Linked DNA regions of Homo sapiens: region 2 is linked to region 1. The links are contacts of gene promoters, found by promoter capture Hi-C in human tissues and cell types (Jung and others, 2019). All regions are on one chromosome and are shown on one strand. The core of a region is centred on a gene start or on the middle of the fragment in contact, and the rest is flanking DNA. Distances in the headings are between cores, read along the strand shown. Region 1 holds the start of SULT4A1 (sulfotransferase family 4A member 1). Region 2 overlaps EFCAB6 (EF-hand calcium binding domain 6).

Region 1 (3,052 bases), core at 199-2,698:
CTAAAGCATTTTAGGTCCCACCCCATGCGGCGACTGGCATGTGCTCAAGATAGCAGCCCATCGAACGCTCTGTTCTCCAACCAACACCCTCCACTGAGAGTCCCTACTCCAATCTTCCTCAGAAGAATGTCAGAGACCTGCCCTCAGGTGTCTGGAACTCCATACAGCTACAACAGCCAAGCCTACAGCTTTTCCTGAAACTGCCCGACTGCTGGTCCGGCGTGACCTTAGAGCCAGACACCTTCTAAACCACGCTGTGATTGCCTCAAATACAGTGGCAACAAGGAAATCCCAGGGCATGTTTACAGAACAGGAAAGCTGCTACCTCCTTTCCCTAAAAACCTCAGATGGGGTACTATACAATCTCCTACCTCAGGTCTGGAAACAGACCAGCCTAGCTTTAATTCCCAGGTCAGCCACTCACCAGCTGAGTGACCTTGGACCAGCCTCTTCCCCTCTCTGAGCCTCTGTGCCTAGACTGTAAAGTGGGAATGACCACCACTAGCTCACACAGCTGTTATTGTGAAAGTGACGTCAGCTAATGCTGGGAAATGTGAATGCCCCAGGTCCTGCCTCGGTGATGGAGGCAGCCCTGAAACAAGAGAATGTACAAGCAAGGCACTCCAGGCGGGGACTGGTCCCATCCCCCACCCGGAGCCCAGGCTGGAAAGGAGGGACGTTACGTTTCCACGCTGAAAGCCCTGACGCCCATGTTATCTCCCTTCCCAGGTGAACACCAGGACTTTGCACTCATCAAAGGTTGGGCAGGATTCAGGAACAGAGAGGTTGAGTGACCTGTCCAAGGTCACACAGCCAGCCAGGTAAAGGGAGAAGCAGGGATGGGTGGCGGCCCTGGGCCCATCCTCCTGCAGCGCCGGCCAAATAGGCTCCATCTCCACGGAAGGGGCCGCTCCCGAAGGTCTCTGACCTTGGTTTCCCCAGATGAGAACCAAGCCCCTTCCCACCCCCACCCCACCCCACCCCGCCCCGCAGGGATCCGAGCATCGGGAGAGCGGTGGGCACGGCAGGGGCGGAGGCCAAGGGCGACCACCCGGCCCAGCAGAAGCCCCGGGCGCGGGCGCGGCGTCTACGCGGCCGCGCTGCAGGGCTGGGGCATGGCGTGGCGGGCGCGGTCGGCGCGGGGCTCACCGGACTTGGGGTAGGTGACGATCCACACGTCGCTGGGCCGCACCGGGAAGTTGGCGATCTCCTCCATCTTCCCGCGGCAGAAGGGCGGCAGCCGCACGCCATGGAACTCGAAGTACTTGCTCTCGAACTCCCCCGGGGTGCTGGGGGTCTCGGCCTCGCTCTCCGCCATGCCGCCGCCGTCGCCGTCGCCGCCGCCGCCTCCCGGCTCGCAGCCCGCACGCGCCCGCGCCCGCGCCCGCGCCCGCGCCCCGCACACGCTCGCGCCCCACCGGCGCGCGGCGGCAGCTCCGCAGGCGTGACGTCATGGCGCCGCCGACGCGCGGCGGAGGCTCCGCGGGTATGACGTCATGGCGCCGCCCGGCACGCGGCCGCGGCGCTGCACGGGCGTGACGTCATGGCGCCGCGGAGCCGCGTCCTCCCCGCCCCGCCCCCGGCCGGGGTCACCCACCCGCTGCCGGGGCTGACAGAGACCCTGGCCCGCGGTCTGCAGCCTCCTCAGTCGTGCGTGCGTTCATTCCGCTCATAGCTTCTGTCACTCAGCAAGCGCTCAACACAGACGCATGAGATACCCTGGCTGGAAGGCCCTGAAAGGTAGTCGTCCATTCAACACGTGCTTAGCGCGCTGCTGATCTGTGCCAGGCACTGGGCCAGGGCCCCGACACGCGTCAGGGTAGAAGCAAGCAGAAGCCTGGCCCTGTTGGAGCTTACATTGGTAAATAACCAAGATAATTTCAGGTAAATATTAGGTCCTATTAAAAATATGCGTCTTCGCCAGGCGCGGTGGATCACGCCTGTAATCTCAGCACTTTGAGAGGTCGAGCACGGGCGGATCTCCTGAGGTCAAGAGTTCGAGACCAACCTGGGTAAATGGTGAAACCGCATCTCTACAAACATACAAAAAAAAAAATTAGCAGTGAGCTGTGAGCTTGCACCACTGCACTCCAGTCTGGGCAACAGGACGAGATCTTCTAACAACAACAAAAAAAAAGTATGGGCCACCTAGTCCAGCCAAAAAAACAAAGTGCTTTTTTTTTGCTTTTTTTTTTTTTTTTTTTTTTTTGAGATGGAGTCTCGCTGTGTCGCCCAGGCTGGAGTGCAGGGGCGCGATCTCAGCTCACTGCAAGCTCCACCTCCCGGGTTTACGCCATTCTCCTGGCTCAGCCTCCCGAGTAGCTGGGACTACAGGCACATGCCACCATGCCTGGCTAATTTTTTGTATTTTTTGTTTGTTTGTTTTAGTAGAGACGGGGTTTCATCGTGTTAGCCAGGATGGTCTCAATCTCCTGACCTCGTGATCTGCCCACCTTGGCCTCCCAAAGTGCTGGGATTACAGGTGTGAACCACCTCGCCCAGCCAAAAAGTGCTTCTTAATATCCCATGAGTAGGGGAGGGGAGTGTTGGATTGCAAATTCCAGGACCCCAGATCTATGGAGAAAAATTACAAAAATATACATTTAGTAAGGCACTTCTTGTGCAAACTATAATTTGAGAGCAACCGAGTTCTAGAGATCTCAGTGCAACCCCTTGCCAGTCATGCACTCAACAGACATATATGAAGCACCTACTAACATGCCTGGGGAAGCACAAAGATGAAAACAACACAGCCTGCTCTCATTCTCTGCAGCCGAGCATCATCAGCTGTGTAAAGGAAAAGAATGATTCCTACCTCTAAGTAGTGTAGCCAGGAAGATGGAAGGAGTTTACACCAACAAGAATCTGGAGCAGAGTGGCTGGACGGGACCTATTCCTACTCTCTCCTTCTTACTGTAGAGTGAGACACGTGCATTCTGACACCAAAGACATACACATGGGCTGAGAAGCGCAGGCCATGTGTACATAGCAGACAGAGAGAGGAAACAGCAATTAATCCTGACTTGGGAAGCTTGTAGATGTCTTTCCAAAA
Region 2 (3,052 bases), core at 150-2,649, 230 kb before region 1:
AACTCCTGACCTCCACCCCCTGTCCCCACCCTACTCCTCCTAAGTCTTCCCATCTCAGTAAGTGGAGCTCTTTCCTCCTGGTTGCTCAGACACAAACCTGGGAGCCCTTCTGAGCCCTCGCTTCCTCTCACACCCACATCCAGTCTGCCCACACATCCCGCTGGCTCTCCCTTCAGAGTGCATTAGCACTGGACCCCCTCTCCCAGGCACACCACCTCGGCCCCCACCCAAGGTCGCTGGAGTCCTGCAGGAACCTCGTGATGGCTCCCAGCTGCCATCGTCGGCTCCGTGGCCTCTGCTCTGTGCAATCGCTCCCGAGCGATCCCTTACAGCTGACGTCATGCATGAGGCGCCTCTGCTCAACCCCCTTGACTCTCCTTCTCACTCAGAGTCCAAGGCCAAGGCCTGGCCGTGGCCCACAAGCCTGTCTACACCCCCATCCCACCCGTCCCCTCACTGTTCTCTGAACAGGCCGAGCCTGCTTCAGGGTATCGCAGGGAGCCCTCTCCAGTGTCCGCAGGGCTCACTCTGGCTCCTTCATGACTGTGTCTGAGTGTCCCCTCTCCAGAGAGGCACTTCCTGACTCCTCTGTACAATGGCACCAGCCCTGACTGGCCTCCCACGATCCTCTACTTTTCTCTTTGGCACATGTCACCACCTGATCTAGTAGAGGTTTCTGTGTCCACTGCACTTCCCCCTAGAACATAAGCATGAGTCTGGGCTCTGATCTGTTCCCTGTTGCAGCTCCAGCTCTCCGAGCCATGCTCACCATAACGTCTGTGAGATGGGGCTGCTGGACATGAAGGAGCAGCATTTCCTAGGCACAAAGCACTCTGCTGGGTACACAGACACCATAACTGCAACGTGGGCCCTGACACCCAGGTCCTCACTGTCTATCTACTAGGGAAGCAAGACAGGAAGCAAATCATGGCAATCCAGCGTGATTACTGCAGGGACAGAGGTGTGAGGGCCAGGTGGGGCCAGCCTGGATTCTGGACTCCAGGGACAAGCTAGATGCTATGAGATCATACATGGCTAATCTTCACAAGTTTATAAACTAATCATTCCTCAAATCTCAGTCTTCAGCTTCCCCAATGTTAGTGCGTAGTACAGAGGCTTTGGAATCGAGCCGGTGTTATTTCAGTTCCTGACGGTGCCATGTACTAGAGGTGTGGCTTTGTGTCACTTTTTCCCCGTCTCTGACCCTCAGGGTATCCAGCATAACACGGGAACATTAAACCTACTTGACAGGGTGGTTGCGGGTGTCAGAACACACAAGGCCCTGTGTGTGGCCCTCCAGTTCGCTGCCCAGCATCAGGTGTGGTGTGTTCAATCAGCAAATACAAATCGGTCATGTGCATTGTGGCAGGCACTGTGGCAGCCCCTTGGGTTACTGTGGTGAATGATGTAGAAATGGCTCGGGGCTCACTGTTGAATCTAACTGCAGCACCCTGCGGGCTGTGTGCTATGAGGGACGTGAGGAGAGAGGGGAATGTGCAGTGGCAACCTCTCAGCTGATGTGAAGGGCTTGAGAAGGACAGAAGCTTGGGGAGGAGTCCACTGGTCAAAGGGGAGGCGCCATCCAAGCAAAGGAACAGAATGTGCAAACGCTTAGAGGCAGGAAAGGGTGAGGGGGTGAGGGGTCTTGTGGGCCGGCCAGGCGGGAGCAGGATGTATCCTGAGAGCACAGTGGGCACTCCGGTCAGAGATGCACATGGATGAGACAATCCTGCGAGGGCCAGGAGTCCAAGACGAATTGTGAAGTGCAAAGTGAAGTTGCAGAGAACTGAGTGTACTGTGACCCTATTTGTGGGTTGACAGGTTAATCCTATTTGTTTCTAAAAGATATATGAGGCCAGGGACAGTGGCTCATGCCTGTAATCCCAGCACTTTGGGAGGCTGAGGTCGGAGGATCGCTTGAGCCCAGGAGTCTGAGACCAGCCTGGGCAACGTAGCAAGACTTCGTCTCTACCAAAAAAATTCAAAAAAAGTGACTGTACCATCCCATTAAAAAATTGAGACCCGTGCTTTGTCCACTTTGCGTATACCTGCAAGGACACAAGCCAAGTCCTCACGAGCCCCGGACATAACCCGCATCCAGTCTGTCTCACATAAAAACTGGCAATTAGGGGTTCACTCCTCTGTTTCACCCACTAGTTGATAAATTCTCTGGCGGGATAGAGTGGGTGTCGGTGATGGTCTGTTGAATGAATTCATTATTTAAAATAGAGATCTCTTTGGAAAACACAGGATATACGTTGGCTGTAGCCAAGCTTCACTGATCGTAAAGATAGGAAAGCAACGATGTAGCGTGGAGCTGGGCTTCCCACGGCCTCCACTGGGAGACGCGAGGAGTGTGTGAGGAAGAGAGGAGAGAGTCTGAGAGAGGGAACAGGGAGGGGCCTGCATTGCAATGGGCAAGGTGCAGTGAGGCAGCTGCCAGGCCTCTACAGTTAGGGTGCCCGTGGAGGCCCTGCCGACCAGCACAGAAGGGAGTCTGCTCCTGGAGCCTTTGCCTCCGTTCTGCTCTCTCTCCCTGCAGCGGCCGCTGCCTCCCACCCAGCTCGGCTCTCCTTTGGAGGACCAGGCACTCCCCACTTAAATGACCCCTGCCTCCTCCACGCTGGAGCCCACAGGCCAGTGGTTCCCAGAGTGCTCCTCTTGGCTGGCCACTTAGCCTGGATGAGATCATTAGGACCAATCCGTCTCCATGTATGCATATGGCGATCATATTTTTTCAAACCAAAAATTAGGATGCACATTCTGAAAACTGGACAGAATGTTCAAAATCTGAGCCCTGCTAGAAAGTCTAAGCTGGACTGATGTCATAAATACACGGGCATGTGGAAACGGGAGCCTGGTAACCAAAATGAATCTCCAGGGGTGATCAGTCTGGGGAGGTGCCTCAGAGCACAGGAAATGGGGTGTTGCCCTCCCCACAGCCCCCCAGGCTGCTCTGATACCCAGTCTCTCGCCCGTCCCTTCCCTTCTGGACTTCACCCATCTCCATTCTGCCTCTGGATGTGTTCCCTCCACCCACGGGGTGAGGATG

What was found. Contacts are between HindIII fragments. The study calls those that stand out against the background at their distance.
Region 2: a fragment that was not itself captured here is called in contact with the fragment with the promoter of SULT4A1 in region 1 in 2 of the 25 tissues and cell types used here (dorsolateral prefrontal cortex and liver).

Annotation. Positions count from the first base shown.
Region 1 is chr22:43,861,065-43,864,116 of GRCh38, forward strand. SULT4A1 (sulfotransferase family 4A member 1) reads right to left here and starts at 1,449. Exons shown (of 7, transcript NM_014351.4): 1 at 1,150-1,449. The coding sequence starts at 1,318. The HindIII fragment of the contact is 9,350 bases long and covers 1-3,052 here.
Region 2 is chr22:43,628,164-43,631,215 of GRCh38, forward strand. All of the region lies in intron 19 of EFCAB6 (EF-hand calcium binding domain 6), which reads right to left. Among named protein-coding and RNA genes, the nearest start is that of EFCAB6-AS1, 110 kb to the left of the region's middle. The HindIII fragment of the contact is 3,448 bases long and covers 1-3,052 here.